2 separate regions of the Homo sapiens genome follow, and region 2 is linked to region 1. The links are contacts of gene promoters, found by promoter capture Hi-C in blood cells and fetal thymus (Javierre and others, 2016). All regions are on one chromosome and are shown on one strand. Each heading gives the region's core, a stretch centred on a gene start or on the middle of the fragment in contact. The rest is flanking DNA. Distances are from core to core; before and after follow the strand shown.

The links. The method cuts DNA at HindIII sites, captures the fragments that hold promoters and counts their contacts. A CHiCAGO score of 5 or more calls a contact.
Region 2: a fragment that was not itself captured here is called in contact with the fragment with the promoter of KTI12 in region 1 in 1 of 17 cell types (fetal thymus); the score reaches 9.1 in fetal thymus.

What each region holds. Positions count from the first base shown.
Region 1 is chr1:52,032,010-52,035,701 of GRCh38, forward strand. KTI12 (KTI12 chromatin associated homolog) reads right to left here and starts at 1,801. Exons shown (of 1, transcript NM_138417.3): 1 at 94-1,801. The coding sequence starts at 1,752. The coding sequence ends at 688. The region is part of intron 2 of TXNDC12 (thioredoxin domain containing 12); the gene reads right to left. RefSeq lists an enhancer at 1,508-1,807. The HindIII fragment of the contact is 2,616 bases long and covers 1-2,503 here.
Region 2 is chr1:52,700,073-52,703,373 of GRCh38, forward strand. No RefSeq gene overlaps it. Among named protein-coding and RNA genes, the nearest start is that of COA7, 3.4 kb to the left of the region's middle. RefSeq lists enhancers at 2,806-3,301, 3,054-3,301. The HindIII fragment of the contact is 3,859 bases long and covers 1-3,301 here.

The DNA of each region.
Region 1 (3,692 bases), core at 551-3,050:
AAATACTACTTCACTTAAAGGCAGAACAATGACAAGTATACCTAAAATGTTACATGAAGTTACACAGGGAACATTAAGTGAAAGAGATTCCAGTAGACTATTTTAAAAGATTTTATTAGAGGAAATAATCTAGTAGATAACTTTCTTACTTCCACAAAAACAAAGTTTCTCAAGGATACAAACCAATGGATTTATCTGTGAACTCGGTCCCAGAATAGAAACTAGCAAAAAGTCAGTACAGTACTCAAAAAATACTTTTGTGGTATGAAAAAAGGGCAGGTGCAGATGTAGAACTGTACCATCTTCAGTTTCTGTTCACAATTGTTTTAAAACAATTCTCATCTATCCAGTCTGCTCTCCCACGCCTCAGATGAGGGAAGCCAATGGTCAATGCTCTGTGATAGCCCAAGTAGGATCCAATCTAGGTAATCCCTGTCCACCTTAGCTCTGTCCTCTGAGGGATTTGCCAGGTTGCACCACAATAGTTCTCCATTCTCTTTAGTCTGAACTTATGCTGTAAACCCAAGGCCTGGCACAGGGGTATGCAGGAAAGTTTGAGTGAATCAGTCACAACAGCTCTAGTACAGTACTGCATCGATATGCTCTGGAGACCTGCAGCCTATTTTTCCCAGAGAAATAAAGTGGAGTGGAGATCAGAAGCCATGGCTTCCCCCCTACCTCCTCTGGTCAGTGCAGGCTCTGGCTCAAATACTGAAGAAACATGTTGGCCAGTTGCGGCAAGTTCTCATTGTTGGGATGCATTTTAGTGTACGAAATAAACTGGCGACGAAGGCGACTCAGTTCTGCCATGGTCAAGGGCCGGGTAAACCGCAAGTGCTCTGTGGTACCAGGAAGCGTGAGCAAGTCCCCGGGGACAGCGCTCTTCTGCGCTTCCATCAATCCGGCCAGTACTTGACTCGTGACCTGGTCCAACTGGTGCAGAAAGCTGCCGGAGGCGAGGGGCTGGGACTGCGTAGACTGATGGGGTGGTGGGGCCCGGTTCTCAAACAGGGCAGAGCGGATCCCCGCCAGGGGCAACGGCTCCTCTAGGCCCACCAAAGTGAATAAAGGCCGGTCCCAGCGATTCCGAGAATCGGGAGCCTCAAAGCGCAGCGTTAGGGCCTCCAGGAGTTCGGGAGAGTAAAAGGCACCGGACCCATGCTTTGCAGATTTCTCTGAATCCGGAGTCACAAGAGCTGGAGACTCCGCAGCCCCGGATTCTTCTCGCTCCAGTTCCTTGGGTACGTCGGCCTGGGCACTTCCATTTACTACAGAGTCCGCAGTATGCAGTTCCCTGAGGACGCTGCTGCCCGCCGCCTGGGCTCTCCCGTCCTCCTCAGCGCGTGGCCGCCAACTCACACTGACGTTCCGGCCAGGGTTCTCGTTCGCGCCCGCCACCTGAGGTCCCGCGATCGGGCCGCCGGGCCGTACGCAGTAGACCAGGCAGAGCGGGGTGCGCGCCGCCCGTGCCAGGCAGTAGAGCTCGTAACGGAAACCTTTGATGTAGTTAAGCGAGTCCAGGATGACCACGTCGTGGCGACTCAGGCGCCGTTCCACGGAGGCTCGCAGAGCTCCACGCAATGCCTTCTCACGGGCAGAATCGCCGTACACCGCTGGGTCCTCTGCGCCCAGGACAGCTGCGTCGTCCACCACGTACACCGCGCGGCCCTCGGCAGCCAGCGCCACGCGCAACTCTTCAGCACGCCGGCTCTTGCCGCTGTACGGCAGCCCGCAAAACACCACGAGCGGCATCCTCTCAGGGAGCGACCATTGGCAACCGCGCTGCGCCAACTTCCGGGTTGTACGCGTCTCCGACGTAAGCCGGAAGTGCAAACTGCTCTTCCTGTCTCCCTTGACTTTTACAGACCCTCTTGTTTCTATGGAAACAGGAGTTCTACGCCAGCTAGGCCCAGGTTCAGCTTTCTCAGAAAGGAGATACAGAGACTATAATGGCATCAGTTATTTATGCCAAATGTTATAGGCCTCAGGAGAATGTGATCTTCCTGCAGCGAAAGACTGCCCGTCCATTTTATTAATAAGGCCTAAGGGGCATTAAATATTGTAAGCAATCAGCACTATATTTAGCATATAGAAGGCAATTAATAAATGCTGGTTCTCCTTCATTCCTCCTCTTAAACCTACTGGCTCTCAGTAAATGTTTATTCAATTACCATTTCAATCATTCAACATCTCCAAGGTTGGGAATTCAGAGATGAACATAAAACGCTTTCCCCACAAAAGATAAAAGGTCTGAATGGGAAGGATCAGGCGCCTACAATCAGAGTAATAAATACTATAATGGATAGATGCAGGTGAGGTTATAAAAGAACAGAAGGGAAAAACAAACTACCCAGAGAAATCACTGAAGACTTTATGTAGAAATAGTCATTTGACTTAGAACTTGAAAGACAAATAGGAATTTTTCTCCTTAGTAGGGTTGCCAGATAAAATACAGGATGCCCAGTTACATTTGAATTTCAGATAAACACCAAAAACATTTTTAAGCTTAAGTGTGTCCCAAATATTGCATAGACATATTTAAAATTATTTGGTGCTTATCTAAACTTCAAATTTAACTGGGCATCTTTAATTTATTATTATTATTTATTTTTTCTTTTTTAGAGATGAGGTTGTATGTTGCTAAGGCTGGTCTCAAACTCCTGGGCTCAAGTAATTGTGCCACCTCTGCCTCCCAAAGTACTGGGAATACAGGTGTGTGAGCCAAGGTGCCTGGCCTGCATCCTTTATTTTATTTTATTATTATTATTTTTTGAGATGGAGCCTCGCTCTGTCACCCAGCCTGGACCACAGTGGTATGATCTCAGCTCCCTGCAACCTCCACCTCCTGAGTTCAAGCGATTCTCCTGTCTCAGCCTCCCAAGTAGCTGGGACTATGGGTGTGCGCCACCATATCTGGCTAATTTTTGTATTTTTAGTAGAGACGGGGTTTCACTATGTTGGCCAGGCTGGTCTCAAACTCCTGACCCCAGGTGATCCACTGGCCTTGGCTTCCCAAAGTGCTGGGGTTAAAGGCATGAGCCACTGTGCCTGGCCATCCGTTATTTTTATTTGCTCAATCTGGCAACTCTATTATTGTAGGTTTGAGACCCAGAGCCATGAAACTGTTGGATCTCTTGTATAAACAGCAAGCACTATAGGATGGTAGGTGCAGAAATGTGAGTGTGCCTGTGCATGTGTGTATATTGTAGATGCACATATACTGGGGTCTTTGTATCTCTCTTGTACAGTATAGTAAAAAACATTCAAGTCTTGGCTCCTCCACTTACTAGTGTTGTAACTACTGGCAAATTATGTAACTTTTCTGTACTTCAATTTCCCCTTCTATAAAATAACAACTGCTATTTCACAGGTTTACCAATCTGTAGGTTGTTGTGAGGGTTAAATAAATGTAAACACAGGCCCGGCATGGTGGCTCGCGCCTGTAATCCCAGCACTTTGGGAGGCAGAGGGTAGATCACCTGAGGTCAGGAGCTCGAGACCAGTCTGGCCAACATGGTGAAACCCTGTCTCTACTAAAAATACTTTTTAAAAAATTAGTCGGGTGGGGTAGCGTGTGCCTGTAATCCCATTACTGAGGAGGCTGAGGCAGGAGAATTGCTTGAACCCGGGATGCGGAGGTTGCAGTGAGCCTAGATCGCACCACTGCACTCCAGCCTGGGCAATAAGAGCGA
Region 2 (3,301 bases), core at 200-2,699, 670 kb after region 1:
CAAAGAATGGACTATTTCCAACCACTTATTTATTGGAAGGCAGCCAATAATGTCTGAAATCCCAGTTTTATTTTTTAAATTCATAGGATTTTACATTCATTTCCCCATAATACATCTTTCATAGGATAACAGAAGATTGCCTTTTCTCCCCCAAGCCTTTGAGTAAAATTGACATTCCAGGCAATATACCACATTTACCTGTGGTTTCTTATACCCTGATCACCTTAGGGGACTCCTCAGTACACATGGCCCAGGATGGGAATCCTTGAACTTTGGTTTGAGGTCATCTTCTTTAGGATGGCCTTCAAGACCCTGTGCAATCTGATTCTAGCCTTATTTTCTGCCTCTCTTCCCCCACATCCCACCAACCTTCTGTTCTCTGAATAGATCCCAAGTTTGTGTCCCTGTTTACCTCTGCTCTTGATGCCTGGACCACCCTTTTTGACACAAATCGGAAATACTCTCCTATGTAAAGTCTTCCCAGACACAACAATTACACACATTCAAATTAGATTTAGATGCTCCCATTTTGGTGTTCCACACCACTTGGTTTATTCTGGTATAGTGTAGTAGGAAAGAAAGAACTGGCTTTGGAGTGGGGACAGATCTTAGTTCAGAATCCATGTTCCATGTTTATTAAATTGTAACCTTAAACCAATCATGTTTGTGAGTCTGAATCCTCTTCTGTAAATGCAGATCCATTTGTAATGGCTGTCAGAAGGACTACAAGTTCATGTATGCAATGTGCTTGGCAGAGCGCCTGGCTCAAAGTCATTCCTGTTCCAGGAATGTTTCTTGTCATGCCAATAATGGCATGAAAGTCTGTGTTCCCCACCAGACTGTGACCTCTGTGTCCTGTATGCTGGTCACAGGGCCAAGAATAGAATAGGGCTTGATGATAGAATAGAGCAGGGTGATGTCGATTACTAAAATCTGGGAATGTTTCCCTTTATTTTCTGAGTTGAACTGCATTGAAATGAGATCACCTGAGCGGTAGAGGGCACAAGAGAGTTAGTTGGTGATGAGAGGCTCAACCAAGTAAGAGGTCACTTTTTTTTGTTTTGCTCTTTCATCCAGGCTAGAGTGCAGTGGCGTGATTTTGGCTCACCGCAACCTCCGCCTTACGGTTTCAAGCAATTCTCCTGCCTCAGCCTCCTGAATAGCTGGGATTACAGGCGCCCACCACAATGCCCGCCTAATTTTTGTATTTTTAGTAGAGATGGGGTTTCACCATATCGGCCAGGCTGGTCTCGAACTCCTGACCTCGTGATCCGTTTGAACTAACTGTTGCCTCTGCCCTAGAGTGCTTTTCCCCTGTATTTTTTTTTTTTTTTTGGCTTGCCTTCTTAAGTTCTCTGCTTCAATTTGACATCGTCCATGTGGTCTTAGCTCATTCTTGTTATAATAACAGTGTCTTGATTGTGCCCAGCAATATTAGGTGCCCAAGTATTGTTGACTGAATTAAGAAGAGGGATTATCATTCCAAATAATTTGGTTTTCATTAATGGAACTTAGAATATCACTGACTCTTGCTCTTTTGACCCAGGTTTTTCTTAAAGCTATAAGAAACATTAAATGAAGGTCTAATTGACATACAGGAAACTGCACATAACTTTAAAGTAACAATTATGAGTTTCTACATATGTATACACCTGTAAACCATTATCACAATCAAGATAATGAGCATATTCATCACCTCAAAATTTCCTCATGTGACTTTGTACTTCATTCCCTCCCCAGCAACCATTAATCTGCTTTCTGTCACTGAAGATGGGTTGCATTTTGTAGGATATTATCTAAATAGAATGATACAGTAAGTACTGTTTCTTTTTGTATAGTTTCTTCGATTCAGCATAATTATTTTGAGATTCATCCATGTTACCACACGTATTAATAGTTCATTCTTTTTCTTAGTGAATGACATTTCATGATGTAGATATATCACAATTTGTTTATCCATTTGGGTTTCCAGTTTTTGGCTTACAAATAAAGCTGCTGTGAATATTTGTGTACGTGTCTTTGTATGGGCATTCATTTCCATTTTTGGGGTTCATACCTAGGAGTGGAATGGCTAGATCATATGGTAGGTATATATCTAACTTTAAGAAACACCCAAACTGTTTTCTAAAGTGATTCTACCATTACATTCTTACCAGCAGTGTTTGACAGTTCTAGTTGCCCTACATCCTCACCATAATTTGATGTGTGGTCAGTCTTTTAAAATTTTAGCCATTATAGTGAATATAACAGTATCTTATCATAGGTTTAGTTTGTATTTTTTTGAGTGACCAATAATGTTGGCATCTTTTCATGTGCTTATCTGCCATCTGTGTATCTTTGATGACATGTTTGTTAAAATCTTTCGCCCCCTTTTTATTGGATTGTTTTTTATTATTGCATTCTAAGAGTTATTTATATATTCAAGTCCGTTATCAGAAGTTTTGCATATATTTTCTCCCAGTTTGGCCTGCCTTTTTTGTTTTTATAACAGTGTCTTTCAAAACCAAAAGTTTTTCATTTTAATGGTGTGTCTAGTTTATTGATTTTTTTCCTCTTGTTAATAGTTTGTGCTTTTTCTTTCGTATTCAAGAAGTCTTTGCCAAACCCAAAGTCACTAAGATTTTATCCTATATTTTCTTGTAGAAATTTTATGGTTTAAATCTTATATTTAGAAAGCCTATGATCCATTTCAGATTAATTTTTGTATGAGGTATGAGATAACAGTTGAGGTTCACTTTATTGCATGTGGGTTTATAATTACTCTAGCACCATTTGTTAGAAAGATTATCCATTCTCGGCCTCCCAACGCGTTGGGATTACAGGCGTGAGCCACCGCTCCAGGCCTCGGGATAGGTCTTAATACCTCCTTTTTATAAAGGAGGTCCAGATAAGTAAAGTGATTTCCACCAGGTCACACAGCCCGCTAAACCTCTCCCAAAGGGTTACACGTTGGTAAAGGAGCCGCCCCGTGAGAGAGACCGGACCAATCACGTTTGCTGTGAGGTCACTTTGGAGGCCTGAGATTGGTGCTCGTGTCTAAACGGACCCGATCTTTCTGAGTGGCTGGTGCAGCTGAGGGAGGTTCCAGGTGGCTTGCTCGGGGGCTGCCCAGCTCGCCGTCCTCTGCAGATCCCCTCGGGACTCTCAGCATTTTGTGGGTTAGCCGTGGAGACGCCCTGCCCTTCCTGCTTTGGCCAGTCAACCCCCTCAAGCCCGTGCCCGTAGAGCCTGCAGCCCTTCCTCACCTCATCACTCCCCATCCCCCCAAGATATAGAAAGGCCGTGACAGCTGCCAGCCCTG